3 separate regions of the Homo sapiens genome follow, and regions 1 and 3 are each linked to region 2. Evidence: promoter capture Hi-C in 16 types of primary human blood cells and fetal thymus (Javierre and others, 2016). All regions are on one chromosome and are shown on one strand. The core of a region is centred on a gene start or on the middle of the fragment in contact, and the rest is flanking DNA. Distances in the headings are between cores, read along the strand shown. Region 1 overlaps LINC00452 (long intergenic non-protein coding RNA 452). Region 2 holds the start of CDC16 (cell division cycle 16). Region 3 overlaps TMEM255B (transmembrane protein 255B).

Region 1 (4,326 bases), core at 1,717-4,216, 310 kb before region 2:
GCTGGGGCCTAGACATTCCGTGGGGCAGCGGGGGCACCCGGGGCAGTGCCTCACCCCGACACCAGGCCAGCAGAGACTGGTGGACCCCTCTCTTCCCCAGAGTGGGCCCATCAGGATGCCCAAAGCTCCCAGCTGGTGGTCACTGATTTTGCACTTTGACCCGTCCTCAAAACATGAGGTCTCTGTGAAAGCATAGACACCTTGAGAGTCCCAGCATATGGGTGTGTGGCTGATCTCCCTTCCCTCCTGGCAGGAAACCCAGAGCCCTGAGCAGTTGTCACCCAAGATGGTGGCCCCAGAGCCACCTGGCCAGGCTCCCCACTTTTTCCTGAGCTGGACTCTCATGGCTGGTAACAGCCCAGGGTACCCCTCCAGCTCTGCCCTCCCAACTCTGGCTGCCCCCAGGTGTTCCCCGTGTCCAGCCCTGTGATGGGGAGTGCAGAGCGAGGCTTGGAGGGTGGGCGGGGAGCAGGTTCTGATCTCAACTCTTCCGTGCTCTGGGTGAGCAAGGCGGCTGCCTAAGGTCCCAAGGACAAGAGCCCGCAGCGACGGTCAGGATCATTGAGGAGAACGCCTGGAAAGTGCTTGTTGAGTTCTCTGTCCATAGTAGGTGCTCGGTAAATGTCAAAGATTTCCCAAATATTTGTATTGCTGCCAAGCTGAAGCATTTAGAAATGCATCAGTTTCATCTCCTCTTTGTGGTTGGACTTGGGCCCAGAAGCTGGTCCCCAAAGTGGCTTCACTTGTAGGACCAAGTATGAGCCCAGCCCAGCCCACAGCTGCCGCGCAGCCCTGCGACCCATTGGGTTATAAGGTGGAGGTCTCGGAGCTTCTGCTAGGAGCCCCCACCAGCCTCTGAGTCAACCAGAGGCCCCGGCGGCTGACCCCCTACAGCCCCCGGGGCCACAGCCCGAAGTGTGGGTTGAAGGGCTCCTGGCAGAAGCCTGGCCTGCAAGCACCGGCATCCAAGCTTCCACAGCAAAGTGATCCCATGCCAGGAGCAGACGTGACGGCTCCCTCAAACCAGGAAAACCTGTTTAAAATTCCACATGTCACCGTGGGCCTTCCTTTTCCACCCTCCATCGTCCAGCAGGTGTCGGGCCCCAGGCTGGAGGCCACGTGCCAGGCTGGCAGGATTTGTCCACTGTGAAGCTCGACGCCCCCGCAGGCCCTGTGCTGCCCGCCCGGATCCCCCTGCCTCAGGATGCCCTCCACACCCTCCGAATTCCCAGCCGCTGCTCTGGGGCCTGCACAGAGGGCTTGGGCCCAGCACCTGGAAACTCCAAAGAGGCAAACGGGTTCATGTCCAGGTAAACCTCAAGATGTGGCTCTGAGGAGTTTCCTTTTATGGGTTTTACTGCTTTTTAAAAACACTCCTTATTTTCGAAATAGAATGTGACGCCCCACCCTCACCCTGTCCAGGAGGCCCAGCCAGTGCCTCTTCTGTGCCCCTAGACACCTCTGAGAACTCCAGGCACCAGCATTAATATCCTGGAGCCCTGGAGCCCCGGAGCCCCTGAGTGTGCCAGATCCTGAGTGTGCCGGGCCTGAGTGTGTGCCAGGCCCCAAGTGTGCCGTGCACTGTGTGTGTTGTGCCCCCAGTGTGCCAGGCACTGAGTGTGCCAGACCCCGAGTGTGCTGTGCCCTGTGTGTGTCATGCCCTAAGTGTGCTGTGCCCTGAGTGTGCCAGACCCTGAGTGTGCTGGACCCTGTGTGTGCTGGACCCTGTGTGTGCCAGGCCCTGAGTGTGCCATGCCCTGAGTGTGCTGGGCCTGTGTGTGCCAGACCGTGTGTGTGCCAGGCCCTGAGTGTGCTGGGCCCCATGTGTGCTGGGCCTGTGTGTGCCAGACCGTGTGTGTGCCAGGCCCTGAGTGTGCTGGGCCCCATGTGTGCTGGGCCTGTGTGTGCCAGACCGTGTGTGTGCCAGGCCCCATGTGTGCTGGGCCCTGAGTATGTCAGGCCCTACAGGCAGCGCCTGCAGATGGAGCTCACAGAGAGGCTAGAGGGGGAAATCTGCTTAAAGTCTTGTCTGCTCTCTTCATCCTTCAGTGGATGTGGAATTTAATCTGGCAGATACTTACATGGCTGCTGGATGGTAGAACTGTACAAGGTCCACCCAAGTGAGGAGGGAGCTGTGAGGCGTGGTGGGAATGGAGGATGGGGGCTGTGGCCTACTGGGCTCCCTGTGTCCACCCCACATCCACCCAGTAACTCATAAGCCACAAATAGATGTGCCTTGATCTACTTAATGCCTCATTGCTAGATAGTTGGATTGTCTCCTGTTATGCATTTGCCACCCAGAGCCTCATCATTCCTCCTGTCATTACTTTCTAGTGGGAGAGTGGGTCAAAGGTGTGAACTCCTGTATTCACCCCTAGGTTTTGTCAGATCGCTTCCGAGGCTGCCCTCTTCGCCGTGGCTGCTGAGTGCAGAGCTGGGCATCTGAGTGGACAGAGTGGTGCTCCGCTTCCTTGCATCTCCTGGGCCATGCGTGGTGACCTGTGCCCACTGCATCGCTCCTGTGTGCCCTGTGCATGTGACCGTGTCTTTCCCGTGTATTCAGTGCTGCTTCATGTGTGAGTTTCTCTGTGTTCCAAACCCCAACTACAGTGATTTTACAGATGAACCTTAATAGATGTGAAATCTATAAGTAGCTATTAATCTTTGTGTCATATTTACTGCAAATATTTCCCCCACTCCACTAGCTTCCAGTTCCGCTTTGTGGTTTGTGAGTGACCAGTGCATCCCGTTCCTGCTGCAGCAGCTGCAATGTGCACTGTCCTGCAGGAAGCCCTCGGGGTAGGGCCTGGGGGCTGTGGGAAGCTCAGCAACAAGGTAAGGGAATGGGCAGCTTTGTTTTATTTATTTATTTATTTTTACTATTTAATTATCTCACCTTATTACACTTTAATTAAAATATCGATCTTTACACAATACACTTGAACTGTGGAATAAAGCAGGACCAGATGTGGACCCTGGAGCTGACAGTTACTTGCCTCCCACCCAGCCACGTCCTAATTCTCTTTTTGCAAAAGCAACTACTTGTCCCTGTTAAAGCTGTTCCTTCTGGTCATGACTGTTTTATCACAAAATCATATGCCTCTATTTTTGTTGCTTGACTTACCCATTTTAGACATTATCTGTTTATTTCCTGCTGGACAGGTATTTTAGCTCCATCTCCCCTACTTCCACATCCACACTATAATTATATCTCTATTTTTAGTTAAATCCATAGTTAGTATTTACATTTTCATGACTAAGTAAATATTGCTTATGACTGAGCCAAACAAAGCATGATGGTTATTTTTCATTCCATCAACAGCTTCCCCCTGCCCTTCGCCCACCCTGATAGTTTTGACTTTTTTTCTCACAACACATTCTCATGTGTGTTCATAGTCTCCCGACTATCTTCTATCTGCCTTCACCCCCAGTGCTCCATTATGCCAGGAGGTCTCCTCAGGATGAGCCCCATGTGCAGCCTACATTGTGCTACTCTCTCAGATCCAGTGTGCAGCTCTCCTCCTGGGACTTCCCTCCACAACTTTTCTCAGTTGAATCCACTATGTGTTGGATCCCAGGTCTTCCTCTTTATTTTCTCCTTCATTTTGCTGGAGCACATCCTCAAGTAACTTTCTAAAATAAGTTTAAACAGGTAAATGTTTTGGAAGGTTGAATGCCACAAAACATCTTTATTCTACCTTCATACTTGACTCATAATATTGCTGGAACCAATTTCTAAGTTCAAAATCATTTTTCAGGAGCTAGGAATTGAACTCAACCTATCTAATTCCAAAATTAGGGTTATTTTATTTGACACGATCTCTGGCTAGGAAGCAAGCACAACAGCTCCACCGTTATTGGCAAGTTACTGAAAGCAACCCTTTGACAGCAGCCGCAGATCCACAGCCATACAGAATTTTCCTTTTTAAACAAGTTGCTCACCATTAGGATGCTCTGATTTCTCCATTTGTAAAATGAAGATTCTCTGTCAACTTTTGGTTTTAGTTTTTGGTCTGGCATATTTGGTAAGCTACAAGTGATCTTTGGCTGAAAATCAGTCATGTGTGGCGGGTCGTTTCACCAGGTGCCCTGCACCCAGAGATCTAGGGCCCTCAATCGTCCTTCAGTTGCTGTCAGTGCAAGGGCAATCTCACCCAACCCTCCACAGGGAAAGGCAACTGCCACACGCCTCTGAGAGCAGGGATGCAGCAAGCGCTGACTCTGGGCTTACAGGGGTCCCGCCCATAACAGCGCACCACAGACCAGGGCTCACCCCACAAACATTTTTCTCGCTCAGTCCTGGAGGCAGAAAGGCCAACATCAGGG
Region 2 (4,208 bases), core at 609-3,108:
AATTTTTAAACACAACTTCAAAATATTACCCAGTCATATATGTATACACACACATAGAAAATTACACGGCAGATTACTTACAGTAGCGTGAGAGAATTTTTGAGTGGGTGGGATTCTTTACAGCAAGTTTTTTTTTTTTTGCTTCTTTGAATTTTTTTTACTCTTTTAGGTTTTTATATTTATAAAAGTTATATTTACTTTTTAAAAGTGTCAACCTTAATATTGAGATTCAGAAATATGATTACATATAGTGTGTATTTGAGCACAGAGCCTGAGAATGGCCACCTGGACAAATGGGGTCAGCCTTTCCAAGTGGAGCTCAGGTCTCTCTTACCAGGCGGAGACAGAAGCTCCAGCAGGATCACCACAGTTCTCATATGAGACCAGGGGCACACGCCGCAGCGGTTCCATTGGTTAGGGATCTCTGTATTTGAAGGAAGATTGCGTTATAACTCCATGAGGAGGGGTAGTGATCTGAGGGGGTCTTATCTCCGGTGCCATTTGGTCTTTATTGTTTACAGGGAAAAAGGCAGAAGTTACAGCTGGGTGTGGCATGACCTAGGCCGCGTAGCCACATTCCCCTCAAGGCTCAGGTAATTCAAAGTTCCAACAGCTTCAAGTTTAAATTATTTTAAGTTTGAATGATTTAATTTCACAAAAGGTAATATATGCACATTGACTGAAATTCAAAAGCACAAAAAGATATCCAAGGAAGTACCTCTCCCACTTCTACCATCTCTCATCTTCCAGCACTCCTTCCAGAGGCCTTGCGCTATGCCGGTTTTCTCATTTTTCCTTCCTGGGACAGTTTAGGGATTTTTCTACCTATCATTAAATTCGTATTTTACTCAAATGCAGGCATACGATAAACACGATCCTATACTTGCTTTTTCCCACATACTATATCTTGAAGATCGTTCAATGTCCATGCAAAGCTGACTGTTCTTTTGAACAGCCAGCGAGTATTCCATTACGTGAGCGTATCATGACCTATTTACTCAGTTCCATACTTCATGGGTGTTTAAATTGTCTGCAATCTTTTGCTATTACAAACGAAACCACAGGTCATTTTGCACACATGCAAAAATGCAAATCCATGGTATATTTCCCAAAATAAAAATCATTAGGTTTAACAGCACGAACACCTTTAAATTTGGAAGATATTCCAATTCGTTCATCCTAGAGAGTATACCAATACCACTCACAAAACTTGAGGGTGCCTGCTTCCCGACATTCCTGCTAGCAGTGTCATCAACCTTTGTGATCTTTGTTAACATATGAAAAGTGGTACTCTAATTTTAATTTTTATTATGAATTAAGTTGGACTTTCTTTCGTATGTTAAAGTCTATTTGCATTTCTTTCCCTGTGAACTGTTTTTTGCCTGTCTTTCTCCTGAGCCATTGGTCTCTTCCCACTGACTTATTACATATATGTAAAGGGAATATTGGCTCTACATTATAAGGAAATTCGAATTTTGTGATAGGTTTCAAATTTTTCCCTAGGTTGTCTTTGACTTCATTTGCTGTTTGTGCACACAATTTTTTTTTTTTGTAATGAGAGTGCGTTGCTCTTATTTTTAAAATGTTGACTACATTCTGGGGAAAGAAGGCTCAGCAGCCACCTGCTTTTTTGCCCGGGTGGGTGGTCCGGCCCCGAGCCCTCCTGACTCTCTCGCCAATGCCCAGAGGCGCCGCAGCGATTCCAGGGAGGCCGCGCTCTCGCCCCAAGGCAACCAGAAGCCCACGTGCCAGGAGAGGCATCGGAACCAACAACTCGGGTCCGTTTTCCCGCGCCAGATGGGATTCGTTTGCTGTGGACTTCCGGGGCGGGGCCTGCCTGGAGCGGAAGAGCCTGGGCAGTGCACGGGGCCTGGGTGGGGGGTGCGGGTGTGGGTGGGGACCTGCGGCCTTCGAGTCCGCGGCCTTCGAGTCCTGGGGCGGCGGCGGCGGCTGCAGGCACGGGCACGGGCACGGGGCGGGGTGCTTAGGGTGCAGGAGGCGCGCGCCTAGCGGCGGAGTGTGGCGTGAGGCCGGGCCCGCGCCGCCATGAACCTAGAGCGGCTGCGGAAGCGCGTCCGGCAGTACCTCGACCAGGTGGGCGGCCCCGACTCGGGGTGCGGGGCCCAGGCCTCGCCGGGTCTTTTTCCGCGCGGCGTGGGGCTGGGGTGACTGTTGTCGGGGCTCTTGGTGGGGAAGGACTGGGCCGGCCCTGGGCCTTCATCTGGGGCCAGCAGCGCTGTCTCCGCCTCGCCCAGAAGGGAGCGGTCCCTGCAGCTGGGAGGGGCACAGCCCGGGGAGTGGAGGCCCCCGAGCGCACGGGGCGCCTCAGTCGGGTCTGAGCCTCGTTCTGCACCTGGCGCGGAGGAGGTGCCCAGGAAACACTGACTACTCAGTGCAAGTTGAAGGACAATTTTTGGAGGAAAGTTGCAGGGCTAGCTAATAAAACATTTTTGAGAGGTTTAGTTGTAATTTTTACTGGGCTGAATTTAAGTGAATAAAGATGTGAAGAAGCCTGTTGTCTCAAATCAATACTTTAAAAATTCTCGTTAACTATGTCTGTGTTCTCTGCACTACCTTTGAATAGCAGAGAGCGTTTAAGGCAAGAAGTGTCTTCGAGAATCAGCAGCATCAGTTTTATCTATATTGTTGTTTATTTTTTGTTGAAATGCTTGCTCTTTCAGGAAATTGGAAAGAAAGGGAAAGAAAAGCCATGGTAATGCAGAGTTTTCGGAATTGGGTGCTAACTGACGTGGCCAAATGTTTGCAGTCCATTTGGAGGGCTGTGTTTTTATTTACCATGAGTCAGTTGAATTCAGTGTTTTCTGATCACTTTTTCTTCGGTACGGAGACGTAGTGAGGAATATGACAGGCCCGGTTTCCAGCCAGAGACACCGGTATTGAGCATATTTATAACTATCCCGTTGGCATTCCTCCTGCCTCGGGCTAGCAGCAGTGGTCCTGGCTTGTCTCCAGGGGAACTGAGGCAGAGACTGTAGAAGACTGAGGACTGAGGAGCAGAACAGGGTCTAAAGCTAGCCGTAGGTCACTGTGGGTGGCCCTCATTGTCGGCTCCTTCATTTTTGTTAGACTTGGAGGAGGTGAGTTCTTCCCCATGTTCAGTGAAGCTTAGTTAATTTATGTGTGTGTGTTTTTAAACTTGAGTGTTATTAAAACTGCCACTGTGTTATATAAGGTATTTGAGTATAGTGTTCTGTCTTCTAAATTTCACTTTGGGATTCATTAACAGCTCGTTGAAAGTGTTATATAAATCACACATGAATTGTTAATGACTAGCTTTTGCTGTTTCACTTGCATTTCACTTGTATGTTTCACGATACATTTTTACAGTGTATGAGTTTTAAAAAATTACCTTCATAAGTTGCATATACAAAGATATTACAGGAATGTTTGTATTGCGACACTGAACTAAAATTTACCCTACGTGAGATGTAAGATAGAGATGTAACAAATTGTTGTCTTGAGATGAAGATTTATTACATAGAATTATATTAATATATTACATAGAATTATAATAATATTAGATAACTGTTTAAGACTATTAAAATAACAGGGCAGTTACCACCTTTTTTTTTTTTTGGTATGCAGCAACAGTATCAAAGTGCTCTATTTTGGGCAGATAAAGTAGCTTCACTCTCTCGTGGTAAGTGACAAAATGCTAACTGGTTTTCTGATTAATCTTAAAATTCGTTTTCTATTTCACCTTGTACCTCTGACCACTTATGTGAATTTTTCCCTCCAGAAGAACCCCAGGACATCTATTGGTTGGCTCAGTGTCTTTACCTGACAGCACAATATCACAGAGCCGCCCATGCACTTCGGTCACGAAAACTGGACAAAGTAAGTGATGGTATGAACTTTAAAGCTCTTCAGAGCTTTAAAAAAAATGTCATTAGTGGCCGGGCGCGGTGGCTTACACCTGTAATCCCAGCGCTTTGGAAAGCCAAGGCAGGTGGATCATGAGGTCAGGAGCTCAAGACCAAGATGGTGAAACCCCATCTCCGCTAAAAATACAAAAATTAGCCGGACGTGGTGGCAGGCGCCTGTAATCCCAGCTACTCGGGAGGCTGAGGCAGAGAATTACTTGAACCTGGGAGGTGGAGGTTGCAGTGAGCTGAGTTCGTGCATTGCACTCCAGCCTGGACAACAGAGCAAGACTCTGTCTCAAAAAAAAAAAAAGTCATTAGGGT
Region 3 (3,717 bases), core at 518-3,017, 470 kb before region 2:
TTCCTCTCTCCCTGCCCCTCCCCTGGTGGCAGCCCCCTCCCCCACTGGGTGTGGCTGGGATAGGCGGATAGAGAGGGTGTGTCTGTGAGCGAATGGTAATGATAAAACAGTAAACAAAAGATGCTCCTGTCCTCCTGGGGACACCAGGGGGAGAAAGTCAGATAGAGGAAGAGGCAGCCAATAGGAAGGAGTCCTTTCTAGTTTGCTTTCTTGAGTTCTGTGACAGTTAGAATTAGGTTTGGCCGCAAATACCAGGCTATCCAGTATAGTGGCTTATGGTCCAGAGATTTTATTCTGTTATCTAATGGAGGTTGGGGGTGGTCCCCTGAGGTGGGCCTGGAGGCAGGCGGGGATAGTGCATCCCAGGACCCCTGGGTAACGGAGCACGGCCCAGAGCCTGCTGGCCTGACGCCCTCCTGAGCCTGAGCCCTCACTGACAGGTCCTCGCCTTCCTCCCCACAGAAGGGCTTTCGAGGAGGAAGAAGACGTCGCTCTGGTTTGTGGGGTCTCTGCTGCTGGTGTCCGTCCTCATAGTCACCGTCGGGCTGGCTGCCACCACCAGGACGGAGAATGTGACCGTTGGGGGCTACTACCCAGGGATCATTGTGAGTGCGCCGGGCGGGCGGCCTGGGCCGGGGAGGGCAGGGTGGTGTGTGGCTCTCTCAGGGTGGAGTCCACGCCAGCTCACAGGGCTGGGGCTGAAGGTGGGGAGGCTTCGATCAGTGCTTGTGGTCGGCAGGGTTATGGCCCCCACAGACATGCACTTCCCAATCCCCAGGACCTGGGACAGTGGCAGGTCCAAGGCAGAGGGGAATTGGGGTTGAGGTCCAAGTTGATCTCAAAATAGGGCCAGGTGCCCTCCATTGTCTGGGTTGGCCCGATGTGGTCACAGGGTGACCAGAGGGCAGGAGGGGGGCCAGAGCCCGGCAACAGGAAATGTCCAAGGTGGAGGAGGGGCCAGGAGCCCAGGATGTCCAAAAAGGCCGGACAGAGCCTCCCCAAGCATCCTGGAAGGATTTTACCCTGAGGGACCAGGTCGACCACCATAGCCCATGGAAGGGGAAAGTAACTTTAAACGATTCCTACCAAGAAGCCGTGGGTCAAAGATCGTATTAGTGACGTGATCGCGTGGGAACGGCCAGAAGGTGGTGGTGCTGACCTCATCCACCCGTCAGGCCAGATTTTGAACAGTAAGGCGGCGAGGTAAATTGATGGTAACCTAATTGGCAAGAATTGGTCACCCAGATTCAAAAGTATCAAGGTTTTTTGAACTATGAAATTACATCCTCTGTCGTTAGTAAAAGAATTCTCCTAAGTGCCTGCATTCTGCACAGTGAACCTCTGTTGGAATGGCTTGGATCAGCTGCGATGCCCTTCACATGCCCCAGAGCCTGGTTGCTACGTCATAAAGTGCTAAAGCAAGATTTTAAAATGCGGCTTCTTCAATCTCATTACTCTCACCTAAAGTACTACCAAGATTGGTAATAATATTGATGACAATCAGCAAAGATGAAAGATTTTTGGCCCTAAGTATTTAGAAATATTTTACAAATACTGTTTATTTCACCATTATATTTTCCTTTGTTTATATCTTAGGGTGTGCCTTAGACATCTACACTATCTACCTGTGTATAGTTTATGAATAAACATATACAAATAGTATCTATGCAGAAAAAGCTTTATCAGTAAAATTGCAAGAGGCCAATGGTGTGGGGACCTTGGCCTCATGTGAGGGGCTTTTCTGCTTCCTGGGCAGAAAGGGGAGCCCAGAGGGCAAGTGGCTGTGAGGAGGGACCTCCAAGTGATTTGCGAAACATCAAGATCAGCCTTGAGTGGTTGTTTTTTTTGGTTTGTCCTCAAGCTTATTTAAGAGCTGCCTCAGAATAACATAATGAAAAACATCAATGGCTAATGCCCAAGCTATGCTCTGTAAAGAATCTACCTTCTGGGCAATGAATTAATGCTGTGCTGACCAGATTGAAATGGCCTGTAGTACAGACAGTTCTGAAAGCAAACTAGGGAGACAACAAATAAAAGCAGCTTCAAGGAAACGTGGCTAAGAGTCACTTCTGTGGAGACTTTCTGCCAATGTAGAGACTTAAGAAGCTGATCTCAGAAGAAGCGGCCAGAACGTGAAAACATCTCCACATTTTCAAGAAAGGTGTGGTTTTTTTCAAATCCCCAAAAAATAAAACGTAGTGTAACAGATGTATTTTAATACATGTATATCGAAGTGAAATTTTGATATTTTTGACGTGTGGAGTTGAACTGCAGTATTTTGAAGCTCAGCACATGAAGAAATATTCCTGTTATCCCTGGAGAATTCTCAAACCGTTGGTGAAAGCCACATGTGTACGTGTCTATCACCACAGACACACAGACAATTACAGAAAAGGCAAAACTATTTACATAAAGAAGTCCGGTTTCCAGTGCATTAAACTTGACACCACGGCCCCAGCAACTCCAAGGCTGTGCCGGGCGGGCCACCCCTTCCAACAGACACTCACTGGGAAGTGCGACCGGCCCGGCGCACCTGCGTGGGAGCAAGAGCCGTCTTAGGCCTCGGCACGGTCGTTGGCAGGTCCATGTTGGCTGCTCTGAGCCAGATTTTCGGTGGGTGTTGCTGAAATGCATGTTCTTCACACTGATTTTAAAAATTCCTCTGCCAGGTGGGCGTCACCTGCCAGGACGGGCCCTGGGTGGAGGGTGCGGATGCCCGGCCGGTGGCCTCTGTTCTAAGACAGCACAGTCCCATGTCTATTTCCCGACATCCCAGTATCATTTTCTGCCCAGAGCTGGGGCTTCCTGTGGAGTAAGGGGGCTCTGCCGGACCCCTGGTGGCCTGTGCTGCAGCCCGGGGCCCCCTCTGTGCCTGGCCCAGGTGCCCCCTCTGTGCCTGGCTCAGGTGCCCTTTCCCCACACCTGGCACCTCCCTGCTAACGGTCTGCCCTGCTCACTCTCCCGAAGCAGCAACCAGAGTTAGGCCGTCTGAGCAGGGGTCACTGGTGGCCCTTGTGCCTGGCAACCCTTCTTTTGAAACACGGCTGTAGTTCCCTAATACCTTACCCAGGAGCCATGCTCAGGGGCATCTCAGGCCTGGAGAAGACGGGACAGATGGTGGTGCTTGGTGGCCCTGGGTTCCCGAAAAGATGTTGTCTCTGGGGGAGGAGTGGGAACTTCTCTTACCCCAGAGTCACAAGCCAAACAGATGCATCATTAAAAACCTCTGAGCAGAGAAGACAGGACAGGTGATGTTGCAGAGATGCCTGCCCAACGCCAGCAGACGCACCTGCTGCTCAGTGGTTGAGGTTCTTGAGGTAGGGATGTCTGGCCTTCGTCCCTGGATAAAATGCCTTTGAGGGCGGGATTATTTGCTTTAAATGTCAGTGTTAAGCTTCTAGGCACGTTAATGAGTGTTTCTCTCTCGTTCTTCCTTTGGTTTTAGCTCGGCTTTGGATCTTTCTTAGGAATTATTGGCATCAACTTGGTGGAGAATAGAAGGCAAATGGTAAGAAAGTACATGGGGTGGTGGGGAGCATGAGTCCCTCATCAGGGGATGGTACAGCTGCACTGGGGCTCTGAGAAGAGTCAGCCCTGCCTCCCCAGCACACTGGTGTCTACAGGACCAGCTCTGAGGTTCCCGGGCTGTGGCCTGCACAGTCCTGGATACAGGGTTCAGCGAGTACCATTCACACCTTAGTCTAAGCGAGCATGGCC

What was found. Contacts are between HindIII fragments. The CHiCAGO score rates a contact against its expected background, and 5 or more counts as called.
Region 1: a fragment that was not itself captured here is called in contact with the fragment with the promoter of CDC16 in region 2 in 1 of 17 cell types (endothelial precursors); the score reaches 5.8 in endothelial precursors.
Region 3: a fragment that was not itself captured here is called in contact with the fragment with the promoter of CDC16 in region 2 in 1 of 17 cell types (M1 macrophages); the score reaches 5.8 in M1 macrophages.

The regions. Positions count from the first base shown.
Region 1 is chr13:113,918,345-113,922,670 of GRCh38, forward strand. It overlaps LINC00452 (long intergenic non-protein coding RNA 452), which reads left to right. Exons shown (of 8, transcript NR_164112.1): 6 at 1,091-1,310; 7 at 2,379-2,576; 8 at 2,706-2,973. Among named protein-coding and RNA genes, the nearest start is that of SWINGN, 8.5 kb to the right of the region's middle. RefSeq lists an enhancer at 1,380-2,264. The HindIII fragment of the contact is 3,996 bases long and covers 969-4,326 here.
Region 2 is chr13:114,233,039-114,237,246 of GRCh38, forward strand. It overlaps CDC16 (cell division cycle 16), which reads left to right and starts at 1,859. Exons shown (of 18, transcript NM_001078645.3): 1 at 1,859-2,094; 2 at 3,607-3,661; 3 at 3,761-3,858. The coding sequence starts at 2,047. RefSeq lists an enhancer at 1,658-1,707 and a silencer at 1,818-2,177. The HindIII fragment of the contact is 7,021 bases long and covers 1-3,123 here.
Region 3 is chr13:113,765,653-113,769,369 of GRCh38, forward strand. TMEM255B (transmembrane protein 255B) reads left to right here. Exons shown (of 9, transcript NM_182614.4): 2 at 463-605; 3 at 3,446-3,508. Among named protein-coding and RNA genes, the nearest start is that of TMEM255B, 8.3 kb to the left of the region's middle. The HindIII fragment of the contact is 184 bases long and covers 1,676-1,859 here.